Regions from separate parts of the Homo sapiens genome. Here all the other regions are linked to region 3. Evidence: promoter capture Hi-C in 16 types of primary human blood cells and fetal thymus (Javierre and others, 2016). All regions are on one chromosome and are shown on one strand. The core of a region is centred on a gene start or on the middle of the fragment in contact, and the rest is flanking DNA. Distances in the headings are between cores, read along the strand shown.

Region 1 (3,459 bases), core at 863-3,362, 1.0 Mb after region 3:
TTTCTCCAAAACAATTTCTTCAAAGACAGAGATTCAAATATGCCCCAAGGGGCCACAGCGGAAGAGTTTCAAAAATGTTTTGATCAGGGCCAGACATGGTGGCTCACTTCTACAATTCCAGTGCTTTGGGAGGCTGATGTGGGAGGGCAGTTTGAGTCCAGGAGTTTGAGGCTGCAATGAGCTATGATCATGTCACTGAACTCCAGCCCTGGTGACACAGCAAGACGCTTTCTCTCAAAAAAAAAAATACCAAAAATGTTTTGATCAATAGTGGTATTTATATTAAAATTAATTATTAATAGCATGTTGAAGTAATTCTTTTATGTGTGTAAAGAATTTTTTTTAACTGGGCGTGATTTTTTTCTCAAGAACATACTCAGGAGGATGGCCATGATTAAATTCTGCTAATTTTAACAATATTTTATTTATTATTTATTATAACGATATTTGTGTTTGGTTATTTCAAGTTAAAAGCACGCAGATATGCTATGATATGTTAAGAAATAGGAATTTATTGTGAGACTCCACTGAAGCTGGACTATGAGTTCTTGAGTTTTATTCTCTCTGTTGTCTCTTGCTGGCAGATCTGCTTTCACAGATGACTTCGCTTTGGTAACACCCTTGGTCCAAACAAATACAGTATTGGACAGTCTTTGGCCCAGGTGGTGGACTCTGGTCCAATCCATGAAGGATATCATTGATGGCTTGGTTTTACTGGAAGCACATGAGAGTTTTTCTCTAAATGGGGCAAAATGAGATGTTCCTGAACTCCACTCACAGTGAGCTTCAGGCACATTCAGGGACAACCCCTGTTATATACATGATGTTAGGTTATACAGATACAAAGATATAAGTCATGCCTTCAAGAATCTCTCCATTGAAGTAGAATGGCAGTGTTGAGGTTAGGAGGAAGGAAAGGAAAGTATAAGTAGACAAATATTCACATAACGCTACATGCTATGTAGTATAGTTATGCCTATATATGAAATAGAAATAAATATAAATGCAATGAAATATAAATAAAATGGTTTGGGAATAGAGAAAACAAAAATAGCTCAGAGCAGTCTGAACTATGTGAGGTATGCAGGCCCAGAGAACATGAGTATGGGACTTTCAGTCACAGTCCCCTACCTCTACCCACGCCTGAGGGCAGTTGTTTAAATTCATTTGTTCCTGACTTGCAGCCTCACCTGTTATCTTCATGTACCTAGAATTTGTGATACAAAGAACAATGTATAACCAGTCAAAAGCTTATGTTATTTCAATGTAAGTCCTTGATAAACAACTTAGGAACTGCCTCTTCTTTTCCTTTAAAAACCCACTAGTAATTGCTGCGAATTGGAGCACATATTCAGGGCAACTTGAATCTGTGCTCCCCAGGTTGCAGTCCTTAAACTTGGCCCAGATAAACTCTCTACTTATATATTTAGTTTGCCTCAGATTTTTTCTTTAGGTCAACAGAACTGGGAAACCTACAAGAGAAGATATTTTAAAGTCAATCAATAGGTTTGCAGGTCCCTCTTCAAAAAAAACAAAAAACAAAAAAATGCAGAAAAAAGTAACAGGTAAAAGTCAATCAAGTAGAATAAAAAACAAATTTATTCTCTGTTACCCCAAAGAACAGAATTTGGACCGATAGTTATTTTGGCTTCAAAACAAAGGAGTTGTTTTCTAACAGCTATAGTTGTCCAAAAATAGATTAAACCAGCTGTCTGGAAAAATAGCAGGCCCTCAATCACAGAAGTTTATACAGAAGCTGTGTAATGGTAATCTTTCACAAAGTTTCGTGAGTGGTATAAAAACATGAAAAACAATGATTCCCAAGGTCCTTTTCCTTTCTAAAATTTTACTCTGTACTTCTGAGTTTTTTTTCTATTTGTCTACATCAGTCTTATTACCCTTCATTCACACTTTTTAGATTGTTAAAATTCATAGTACAAAATCTACTAATAAGAGTCAAATTTGGCTTCTCTGTAGAATTAAGTGAGAGAATGAATGTAAAAGTACCTGATAGAGTGCTTAACAATTATTAGTTGAATTTGAATCAGTAAAAATACCAAGTGAGAAGAAAAACTTTCACTCCTTTCAGGAAGGAAGATATCTAACCACCCCGCAGCTACCCAACCACCCACATCTTATTTCTTCTCCCAGTCTTAACGGAGGGTTGAAAAATGAACTTGGGTTTGTTTGCAGGAAGGACTGTTTGAAGTAAGTACCGCCTGGAATCTTTACCTGGTTACCACTCAATTTCAGTTTTGGAACCTCTCTCTAGGATTTCCATACCCTGGACAGAGAAAATCAATAGTCTTTATAGAGTTAGAATGTCTTCCTTAAAGAGTGACTCACAGGCTTGTACCAAGAAAGCTATATAATTTCTGGAGGTTTGTGGAATGTGGAAGTTAATCTATAGACTTCTTTTGTGTTAGTTAGTTAGCAATTTGAGCAAGAGGGAAAAAAGATGAATCTGTTATTGGTCAGTTTAATTTTTTGTACTAGCTTTAATTAAAGAATCAGTTGGAAATTTAGTTAAAGGTAGTATTTAAAATGGTACTTTTACTTGTTACATATGAGTTTCATGGTCCTTGCTTGTGGTACCATCATTAAGATGGATTTATCAAGATTTGCTTTACAGAAGCATAGATAATAATGAAAGAATAATAGTTATATTATTTGAGCACCTACTATGTAATTTACATGTATTGTCTCTTTTACAAGACACTGTCTAGCATTTCCATTACACAGATTAAGATACCAAGGTTCCAGAGCTTGTGAATGATGGAGTCACAACTCAAAACTACATGATTTGTTCTTGCAACTCACAGTCTCAACTGTGTTAAAGAAAACCAGAGCCAGACAGCAGCTAAAGTGGTAAAAACAGATTTTATTCAGGAACTATTGCGATAGGGGGAGAGAGACCTCAAGAGTCTTTGTTGCCTATTACACAATACTGTCTTGGGTTTACTAGACAAGCTTCCTAATAGAATGGGGATGGCCAATCTTTGTCTCCTTCTCTGAGCTGCAGATCATTTTAGAATTCTCATGAACTATCTTTCCAACATGAACAAAGGGATGGACTATTACCAGGTAGTGTCATGTGTGGCGAAACTGATTTCTGTCTAATCTCAGGTACCTTCTTGCCTTGTGCAGAGGCTCAACTTGTCTCAGCACTACTTTTTAAATAGTCATTTCTTTTCCACCAATTTGTATTACTGCCTTTCAAGCTGCTTTCAACTGATACACATAATTTTGTATTTTCATTTTATAGGAATCTGTCTTCACTGTCCCCTAAATTTAACCAGATCCCTGATATGTTCACCCATTATTGTGAATGGTTCCATATCAATATGAAGTTTCACTGGACTGGGGACTGTGTTCACTGTTGTATTCCTAGCACCTGGTACAGTACCTGCCACAGAATTGGCTCTCAATAAATATTTGCTGAATGAATGAATCAGTCCA
Region 2 (3,175 bases), core at 676-3,175, 1.1 Mb after region 3:
GGAGATTGGGAGCGGGGTGAGGGATAAAATACTACATATTGGGTACAGTGTACACTGGTGGGTGACGGGTACACTAAAATCTCGGAATTCGCCACTCAAGAGCTCATCCATGTAACCAAAACCCGCCTGTACACCCAAAACTATTGAAATAAAAAAAACATTAAAAATGAGAGAAAACCCACAAAAAGCAAATGGTCTTTGTGCTCCTCAACGGTTTTTAAGAGTCTTGTAAATAAGTCCTAAGGCCAAAAGTCTAAGAACCGCTGCTGTAAGCTAGCACCTATAACGGTGGAACCTAATTCTTTGTAGGACCCTTTCCAATGTCAGAGTGAAATCGGTCAGAATCTAGCAGGCTTATCTAGTTTTTTCTACAGCGATAAGGAAAGAAGTCCAGTATTAGCCCTGGGCCGCGGTGAGGGTGGAGCCAAGACTGCGTCTGGGGTCTCTGTGGAAACCGCCCTGTATGGGTCTCCCGGACCTCGCCTCTTTTGTTCCTCTCCGCCTCTGATTGGAACACGCTGTCAGTGGGCGGTGCTTCGGGAAAGGGGCGGGCCTTCATCTTCTTCCAGGAGCCCCTCGCAGCAGCGTACTGACGTCACGCAGGACGCCACTGCCCTGTCGCCCCGCCTGTGCAGCCCAGGACCTAGGCGCGGTAGCTGGGGCTGGCTTTTGAGGGGCGCGGGCAGCCTTCTGACTGGGTCGGAGGCCTGCGGGCCCGAAGCCTCTGTCCCTCCTGTTCTTGTCCGGCGCTGCTTAGCCCCTCCGCGTAGTCATCATGGATCTGATTTTAAACCGAATGGATTATCTGCAGGTAAACCCAAGGGATAGGGCGGGCGCCGCGCTGGGCAAGCCCAGCACCCGGAGAGGATTCCTTCCTTCCACTGACGAAAGTCTCGGTCGCCAGGAGCTGGTGCGGAGGCGAAGGAGCCGGGCTGGGTGCCGACCTCTCAGCACCCCGCCTTTGGGCAGCTCCCTTTCGTCTGTGACGGTCCGAGGGGACCGGGGAAAAGCGGCACAAGCCCCCACGGTACTGGCTTCTGCCGGGTCCTGAGGATGCTCTGAAAATGTGACACTGTCTCATCCCGGATTCCCCCCAGGGCCCTTCTCCTCCTCCCTAGCCGTGGCTGCCTGAGGGCCTCTAATCCTCAATCTCCATCTCTACCCGGACCCTTTTGCGGAGCACCAGGCACTTGTTTCTTACTGTGAGCTGTACCGCACCAGGCAGATCATGGTAAAAGCAATGAAAACCGGGCCGGGGGCAGTGGCTCACGCCTGTTATCCCAGCACTTTGGGAGGCCGAGGCGGGCGGATCACCTAAGGTCAGCAGTTCGAGACCAGCCTAGCCTACATGGTTAAACCTCTTCTCTACAAAAAGTACAAAAATTAGCCCGGTGTGGTGGCGGGCGCCTGTAATCCCAGGTACTCGGGAGGTTAAGGCAGGAGAATCGCTTGAACTCGGGAGGCGGAGGCTGCAGTGAGCTGACATCATGCCACTGCACTCCAGCTGGGGCGACAGAGCGAGACTGTCTCGAAAGGGGGAAAAAAAGCAATGACAACAGTTTAATGTGCATCTAGCTTATTCTAAGAATTTAGCATACCTACCAACATATTTAATCCTCATAAGAATTTGCAAAGTAGACAATATTATAAATGAGGATCTAAGGGGTTAGAGAAGGCAAGTAATTTGCTTAATAGCTAAAAATTAGGGAGTGGCTATTTGAATCAAAGTCTCGGACTCCAGAACTGGTGTATTTTTGTTACACTACACTGCCTTTCAGAATTTCTTTCAGACCTAAAATTCTCTCTACCCCAATTCCTCATCATATTTTTAGGCCACCTCATTTTAGTTAATGGTACAAATGTTTGCCCAGTCAATTTTCTAGGGGTTTATGCTATGTACTTCCATATCCAACTGGTCACCACATCTTACTGCTTTTAACTCCCAAATATCTCTTGAATCTGTCCCATATCTTCCATCTCTATTACCCTCATTTGGGTTCTCATCTTCTCTTGCTTGAATAATTGAAATAACCTCCAAATTGGGCTCCTGAACTCCAGCTTCATCTCCCTCCAAGCCATCCTTCACATCACTTGCTAGATTGATGTTTCAGAAATACAAATCTAAGCAGATGACTTTAATACAATTTTCTGGAATGCAGAATAAAGTCATTTATACTATATGAACGTTTTATCATGATGTGTTGTTTTCACCAATTCCTCTCCCATTGGTCCCATCCTCTTCTCCTAACTATACACCAGCAGTGACAGTTCCCTGCTGCTTTCATCCTCTGTATTTTTTTGTAAAATAATCTTCACCTGTTAGATTGGATGTTATGGCCATTATCATATTTGGTATTTTAGCATAAATCTTCTTTTTTTTTTTTTTTTTTTTTTTTTTTTTTTTGAAACAGGGTCTTGTTCTGTCACGCAGCCAGTCTGGAGTACAGTGGCATGATCATGACTCACCACAGCCTCAAATTCCTGGACTCAAGTTATCCTCCTGCCTCAGCCTTCCAAGTAGTTGGGCCTGCAGGCATGCACCACCATGCCTAGCTAATTTTTTATTTTTTGTAGAGACAGAGTCTCCCTGTGTTGCCTAGATGGTGTTGAACACCTGGGCTCAAGTGATCCTCCCACTTCAGCCTCCCAAAGTGCTGAGATTACAGGCATGAGCCACTGCATGTGGTCTTCCGTTGCATTTTTAATAACTATAATCTATTTTCAAAGTTCTTGAATCACTTTGCTGAACAACTGTATGCAGTTGGAAAAGAAGGCTTCTAGAGATATTTTTTAGTAAAGCATCTTGCCAGTCATCTTACACAACTATTTTTGGCTTGACAACTTTATAGGATAAATTTTACTATTTTGGTTGTTTCCTATATGTATTCTGACTAATATGACATATCTCATTAGAAAATAAATTAATTACTGATAATAGTTATATCACTAATTTCAGTTTAACAAAAAGGTTCACTATAACTTATTTTAATCTCTGTAATAACTTCAAATTAAATTCACTAGGCATCTGGTGTTTTTCTTTAGGTGGGAGTAACATCTCAGAAGACTATGAAGCTAATTCCTGCCTCAAGACACAGAGCTACACAAAAGGTACTGTATAGATTCTGATTTCTCCACTATTCCCTAGCAGTGACAGAGGAGAGGCTCCTATTTCCTT
Region 3 (3,518 bases), core at 23-2,522:
CACGTTAACTTTCCTCCCTCTATAAAACTGTCATTACTATACCCATCGGTCACGGCTTCTGTAGAAATTAGATGAGCTATATATACTGCTAACACTAGTGTGCAGTTACTAGCAGTTATTAAATATCATAACCTGCGTAGTACTGGAAGAAAATGCTATCATCACTCCTAAAGGCAGAGTGATCCACATTTTTACTGAATTGGTTATTTAGTTTTTTAGGATAAGTATCCCATGTTCGCTAGTTATGAACAATTTTGCAATTAAATGTGTCGTTAATGTTAAATGAGACAAAGCGTTTCAAGTGCAACTTAAAAATTCAAAATAATTTACAAAAGAGAAACCTTGGACACGGATAAACCATTTCAGCCTAACTTCTCCAGTGCAGGCGCGGCTACGTTTGCATGCTTCTTACATACAGAAGTCTTACACGCTTCTGTGCCGCTCTCAGACCCATGCCACGCCCAACTTTCAAAAGTCTCTGCACCCCAAGTCAGTATCACTGAGTCTCCCGCCCCTCAGGTTGCGCCCCCTCGGCCTCTAGTCTCCCACCCGGAATTCTTTACCCTTTTCTAATAAGTTGGTCACCGTCAGAGTCCCGGAGGTTGCCGCGAAGTCTGATCCAGCAGAAGGAGCCCGTGCCTCCGCACAAGAGGAAGCAGCAGAGGGCAAGGACGAACCATTTTCCGCGCTTTGGTTCAACCGCTTTCTATTCTTCTTGGAAGACATGGTCACAAGGTACCCTAGCCGAAGCAGTAGAAAAGCCGACTCAATGTGCGCGCTTCAACTGAGAGAAAAACTTCCGGGGCAGAAGTCAGCGAGGGTCCGCCCCTGCGCCGTAATCCCCTGAGTGGAGCGCAGCAGTGCACAGCGTGGTGGGAGGGACTGAGCGTTTTCAAAACCAGCAGTCTTTGAAACAGCTGTAACGGCATCTGTGAAAGAAGATAGGTTCCAGGAACGGAACTGCCACTTAGATTGTAAATTCCTGAAAAACAGGACGTTTTTGCATCTCCTCCCGGCTTCCCCATCCCTAAACCAACGTCTGTTGAATTAAACTACCAAACAAAATAAGTGAGTGGCGGTGGGGGAGGAGGTTTTCCCCGCTTAACTGGAGCGGGGCAAATTGCTGAGAAGGGCTGGTGGACCACTTCGCGGTCTCCTTGGCATAGCTCTGCAGAGTGGTAACCCCAGCTCAACTCTGAGGGTATTGATGGCACTCTTCTAAAATGTACGGCCGCGATCTCCGCTCTGGAGCGCGGAGGGGTCATTTGGGCAACGGACGAATTAAGCGGCGTGGAGATGCGGCAGCCACTGAGCTGGGGCCGCTGGCGCGCGATGCTTGCCCGAACCTACGGCCCCGGGCCTTCGGCGGGTTACCGCTGGGCCTCGGGCGCACAGGGTTACGTGCGGAATCCGCCAGTTGGAGCGTGCGATCTGCAGGGCGAGCTGGACAGATTCGGGGGCATCTCGGTGCGCCTGGCGCGGCTCGATGCGCTGGACCGCCTGGACGCTGCCGCCTTCCAGAAGGGCTTGCAGGGCAAGTGCGCCTGGGACGAAGGGCTCCCGGGGCTCCAGAGCTTTTCTAATGAAATAACCGCGGCCCCCACTCCCTAGTCGCTCTGTGCACCACTGTCGAGCCCAGAGGGAAAGGGAGAAGGCACGCGTGACCTGGACCTGTTTTCTGGAGCATTCGTGCTTAGACCTTTTGCTGGGAGGTCTCTAAGGCGGTTGGGTGAAATGGTGAAGATCCCGGACTTTGGGATCTGCAACCCTGGTTGCTGGTCCACTTTCTACTGTGCGACATTCGGAAATTGCCGTAAACCACCATTTCCTCTTCCACAGACCCCGGTGATAAGAACTCCTGGAATTACTGAGAGTTAATTTGGATAATGCACATAAAGTGCACAGCACAGTGCCTGCCACGTATTTAAAGCTCAGTAGATGTTTGTTAATATTATATTATTACATTATTAGTATCCTTTACCGAGCCTTGGTTCTGTCGGACACTTTTCCCAAGGAAAAAAACTCTTACATTCTAATACGGGTGGTGGACTGAGTGGACCAAAGAGGCTTTTCTTTTTTATTTTTAATTTTTGTGGGTCCATAGTAGGTGTGTATGTTTATGGGGTATATGAGCTATTTTGATAGAGGTATAAATGTGTAATAATTACATCAGGGTAAATGAGATACTCATCACCACAAGCATTCAACCATAATCCAGTTACTCTTAGTTATTTTTAAATGTACAGTTTGTTTTTTTTTTTTTTTTTTTTTTTGAGAGAGGGTATCATTCTGTCTCCCAGGCTAGAGTGCAGTGGTAGGATCAGGGTTCACTGCAGCCTCCAACCCCTGAGCTCAAGCAATCCTCCCACCTCAGCCTCCTGGGTAGCTAGGACTACAGGCGCGCATCTGGCTTTTTTCTATTTTTTCTAGAAACGGTGTCTCACTGTGTTGCCCAGGCTGGTCTCAGTCTCCCGGGCTCAACTGATTCTCCCGCCTTGGCCCCTCAAAGTGCTGGGATTACAGGCAGGAGCCACTGCACCCAGCCTGAATCTTTATTGAATATAGTCACCCTGTTGGGCTATCAAATACTAAACCAGAGAGGTTCAGAGTGTCACATTTGTATACAAATTGGGTCAACAGCTGTCTCAGCGAGAACTGGAGTTTTTTAGAATAACGCTTCTTTTATGATTAACCAGGGACGGTGGTGGGTGGTTTCAGTCTTCAATAAGAAAACTTTTTACTGGCTTTCAACCTTGAGCCCAATGATAAGAAAGCTTGGATGGAGGAGCCTTCACTTTGGAAGAAGTCGATTTAGTGGTGCAGCAGTTTTTCAAACGGCCTCTGAGGGTTTTATAATCTAATTGAAGGCATAGCATGCAAATTCAACTATGGAAAAATCTCTCACACTGGAAACTCAAAATAATCTTTATCCTATTGAGCAATATGGCAAGAAGCATATCTGTAAATATAATTGAGCTAGTTATTTCAATGTTTACTCATCCTCATTCCCAGACTTCTTACCTCTTCACATTATTTTCTCTCCTACTTGCTAGTAATTGCTGACAAGCCCGCTTATACTGCAACAGTGTCACTAATAGGAGAATCAATCGTTTTATCTTCCAGTGTGTGGGTAGACACAGGTGTTGTACCCACTGATACTTATCAATGACCAAACAGGTGATCAAAGCACTACCCCAGTCAGCATGACAAAGCAGAAAGCTGTGCGATTTGGAGGTGCACATTCTGGGTTTAAGTACCAGGTTCTGCCATGTGCTTAGCCAGGCATTAGGCAAATTGCCACCAAAAATATTTGCTTCTTAGCTTGCTTTTTGTGAATAACGCCAGCTCTAATTACTGGATAGATGCGTTGATCAAAGATGAAACTAATTTGTAAACTTAAGTACCAAATACTTGTTATATTTTTTCAATAAAACAAATTTTGTTGCACTTAATGGTAGATGTTTTAGGATCTTTATAAATAGTAATTAATCCTCCTAACAACCCTTTGAGGTAGATAG
Region 4 (3,325 bases), core at 1-2,500, 1.8 Mb before region 3:
CCCTAATTCTGGAGAATTTATACTCTGCCTCTTTTGCTTGTGTTTTAGGAAAGAAGCCCAAAATTCAGGGTACATGAATTAAAATTAAATACTAAGATCAGTAAACCTCAATTGGCACGAATAAACAATATGAAAGAGTAAGCACAAACACGATCTATTTGTTTATCCATCTTTCTTATTGTGATAGCTATACTATGAAATTTCTAAAACTAGATGGGAGACTGGCTTAATATTTTGGCAAATAACCACATGCAAGTTAATGAGGAATGGGAAATAGAGCACTCTGGATTTTAGCATAAACAATTAAAATAAAAAATGCTACATTTCCTATTCCATCAGTTGACGGTATACTTATTTTCCCGGGAGAAATTTGGAATCTAAGCAACTCAGGTCCAGTAAGTGCAAACAACTGACATGCTTAGTCCAACAGGCCCCTGTGAGCAGGCCCTCTAGGGCATTTCCTGACGCCACATGACCAAGACCTTCCCCCCTAGTGGACGCTGCGGGTGATCAAGTGGCCCTGAGGAGCAGGGGCCTGAGACCCAGTCAAGCCTGCTGTCAACCTCCATCTGATGGAGGCCACGTCCTTTTCATGAGGCTGGTAGGAATGTCGCTGTATACCCCCACTATTTCTATTTTCGCAACATTCTTCCCAGTCTTTTCCTTCCTTCTCTTCGTCCCAGCCAAAGTAAAAGCATCCCTGGAATTTAATGGACTGAAAGGAGACCGGACGACTGAGGGGTAGAACGGGGCCCGAAGTGGCTTTGGAAGCAACGGGGTTAAGGGAGAGGCAAAAGGGTTGAGCAGAGAGAGGCAAGAGGCAATCTCCCCCTACCCAACTGCCCCTCCCAGGAGCAGATACGGCACCAACAGCCGGCGAGTCCCTCCGGCCTGGAAGACAAAGGAAGGATCAGGGCCCAGTGGTGACGGGGAGGGTGGGGGCAACGACTCGCGTGAGCTCGGAGACGTGAGAACGCAGCCCCCGCCCCGTTCTCCGCCTCCCCTGAGAAAGGCGGGGCCCCCACGCCGCCCCGAGACAGGTCTCCCCGCCGCGCCGGCAGCGGGTCCCAGGCGGCCGCACACGCCCAGGCACGGGATGCTGCGGGAGAGCGCGGTGGGGGAGGGGAAGGACGCGGAGGCGGAGCCGGCGGGCAAAGAAAGGCCGAGCGGCGGGGCGGGGGCGGGGGCGGGGGCGGGGTCTGGGCTGGGCGGGCGGGGCGGAGCCGGCCGGCCGGGGGCTGCCTGAGACAGTTACTGCCCTGACGGCGGCGGCGGCGGCGGTTGGCCGGTGGGGGCTGGGGCGAGCACGACCGATTCTGCTGGGAAAGCTGGAACTGGCAGCCGCCGGGGGCCAAGAGGAGGATCCGGAGCTGGGAGCGTGCCCCGGGCCCGGCGGAGGAGGCGGCTGCAGTTGGAGTGGAGTCTTGGGAGCGCTGCTGGCAGCGACTTCTCAGCGAAGCAAGTGTCTGAGACTGAGAGTCCCTAACAGCGGCAGCGGCGGCCACGGCGGCGGCTGGGGCCGAGGTAACCGGGGGGCGGCGGCGGCGGTGGAAGCGAGGCCCCTCCCTCGGGTTGGAAGCTGGGAGGCCGAGGCCGTGGCTTGGACCTGACCCAACCACCCACCCTCTCCGGCCTCGAGCCCCAGATTTGCCCTCTTCCCTCGCACCGCCGTCGGCCGGGTGGGAGCGGGAGCGGGGCATGGGGCGGGAGCGCAGAGGCGGAAGCCGACCGGGAGGCGACCCCTCGTCTGGGATTGGCAAGGACCTCAGTCACCCCCTCCCCCTTCAAAAGACACACCCCAATCTCGGTGCGGGGCGGGGTGCAGAGGCGCTCCCAGCCTCTGGAAGGGCAGACCTCGGTGTGGAGGCTGCACCTTCGCTCGTGGCCTCTCTGAGGTGGCTCCCCTGTGGCTCCTCTGGGCGGTTCCAACCCAAGGTGGTGCCCGGCGCTGGGAATCCCGGAGTTCCTTTTGTCTGTCAGCTGAAACTGGAGGCCGGACCTGTGGGCAGACACCCACCAGCACCGAAGCACTCTACTCTTTATCCCTTTCCTGTCTTGGAAGGAATTTCTCTCTAGCAGCCTTTTCTCCGGCCAGACTGGTAGATTTTATCCCTGACCTCCATCCTTGGCCCAGAGGAAGGAAGGATTCACATTTTACTTGTGTTTGCTTTATCATTCTTATAAGAACAGTCATCCCCCATCGTTTTTGTTTTTTTTTTTTAAACCGTTTCCCATCCAGCTGCAACCCTGGTAATCTTCCCCTAGATTTTTGCACATTATCAACAAAGAAGTGTGGCTGGAGGAGTAGACAGTCCTTGACTGACTGGACTGTGTAAGTTAATAGAGCTTCCTTAGCTGGCGCTGTTCTACCAGTCTACTGTGAATGAGCGTTTTGCCTGGAGTTAAGGGTGTTACTGTATGTGCGTAAAGTTTCTCCCCCCCTCCTTTGCTATGGTGAAGTTGCAAAAATCTTGGGTAACTTGATTAAAATGTGGCTGTTTGGGAAGCATAACAATGAGGAAGAAAAATGCAGAAGGGAGAATGTGATTATTTCAGTGGTTTTTGTCCAACTTTTTGAAAGTGCCAAAGGTGAAGTACGTGGATTTTTGAGATTACGTTAACTGGTACACTGCAACCTTTATTGTCCTTAATAAGTTTTTAACATATGATATTTTGCACTGAGGTATTTTTGTTTGTTTTATTTTAGTTACTTGTGGAAATTGTTGATTACCCGGACGTCTTAAAACCAAGAAACCTGTGAACAGGTTCATTAAGAATCTGCTGTCTTGAAAAATGCATATTATGAATGCTTTGAATTAAGAAGGTGTTAACAGTGGTTGTCATTTCTGCCACATAAGAGACTATAATCTGAAACAGTTCCTGGCAGTTGCCCAGATGCCTGAAACTGGCACGATCTAGTACTCTTGAGTGATCATCCTTCAACGAGAAATACAGAGCTACTTACATACTGTACCTCATACCGTATAAATGTAATCTCTCTGATGCCATTTAATGCAGTGGACCTCTTTTCAGAATCTAATTGTCAGATGCAGAATTAACACTTGGAATCTGGAGAAGCATTTTGTACAAATTGAAAGATTGGGTTTTTTCTTTAGTTTTCCACATGTATTGTCTCATCTCTGTTCTTGAAACATCCACAATCACATAAACTCCAGTTATAACCATGGAGTTATGTGACTCATTAAAATTTAGGAAAAGTGTTGCTGAGCTGTGGAATCAGGCGTTTCTCCCTCAGTTCAACAACTAATACATAGACTGCTGATCAAGAATAAGGAACCAAATAAAGTCATGCACGTTCTGTTGA

The links. The method cuts DNA at HindIII sites, captures the fragments that hold promoters and counts their contacts. A CHiCAGO score of 5 or more calls a contact.
Region 1: a fragment that was not itself captured here is called in contact with the fragment with the promoter of NUDT6 in region 3 in 4 of 17 cell types (total B cells, non-activated CD4 T cells, naive CD8 T cells and 1 more); the score reaches 6.2 in total B cells.
Region 2: a contact is called between a fragment that was not itself captured here and the fragment with the promoter of NUDT6 in region 3, in 2 of 17 cell types (naive CD8 T cells and fetal thymus). The highest score is 7.4, in naive CD8 T cells.
Region 4: a contact is called between the fragment with the promoter of ANKRD50 here and the fragment with the promoter of NUDT6 in region 3, in 1 of 17 cell types (fetal thymus). The highest score is 5.9, in fetal thymus.

The regions. Positions count from the first base shown.
Region 1 is chr4:121,884,788-121,888,246 of GRCh38, reverse strand. All of the region lies in intron 10 of TRPC3 (transient receptor potential cation channel subfamily C member 3), which reads left to right. Among named protein-coding and RNA genes, the nearest start is that of BBS7-DT, 16 kb to the right of the region's middle. The HindIII fragment of the contact is 1,720 bases long and covers 1,253-2,972 here.
Region 2 is chr4:121,867,914-121,871,088 of GRCh38, reverse strand. BBS7 (Bardet-Biedl syndrome 7) reads left to right here and starts at 615. Exons shown (of 19, transcript NM_176824.3): 1 at 615-811; 2 at 3,043-3,108. The coding sequence starts at 776. It overlaps BBS7-DT (BBS7 divergent transcript), which reads right to left and starts at 438. Exons shown (of 1, transcript NR_186650.1): 1 at 1-438. RefSeq lists an enhancer at 685-914. The HindIII fragment of the contact is 5,906 bases long and covers 1-3,175 here.
Region 3 is chr4:122,920,351-122,923,868 of GRCh38, reverse strand. It overlaps NUDT6 (nudix hydrolase 6), which reads left to right and starts at 1,272. Exons shown (of 5, transcript NM_007083.5): 1 at 1,272-1,534. The coding sequence starts at 1,297. It overlaps AFG2A (AAA ATPase AFG2A), which reads right to left and starts at 791. Exons shown (of 16, transcript NM_145207.3): 1 at 564-791. The coding sequence starts at 726. RefSeq lists enhancers at 430-799, 592-1,128. The HindIII fragment of the contact is 3,202 bases long and covers 1-2,776 here.
Region 4 is chr4:124,710,657-124,713,981 of GRCh38, reverse strand. It overlaps ANKRD50 (ankyrin repeat domain containing 50), which reads left to right and starts at 1,250. Exons shown (of 5, transcript NM_020337.3): 1 at 1,250-1,524; 2 at 2,708-3,325. RefSeq lists enhancers at 711-1,276, 1,277-1,842 and silencers at 994-1,373, 1,524-1,763. The HindIII fragment of the contact is 8,904 bases long and covers 1-3,325 here.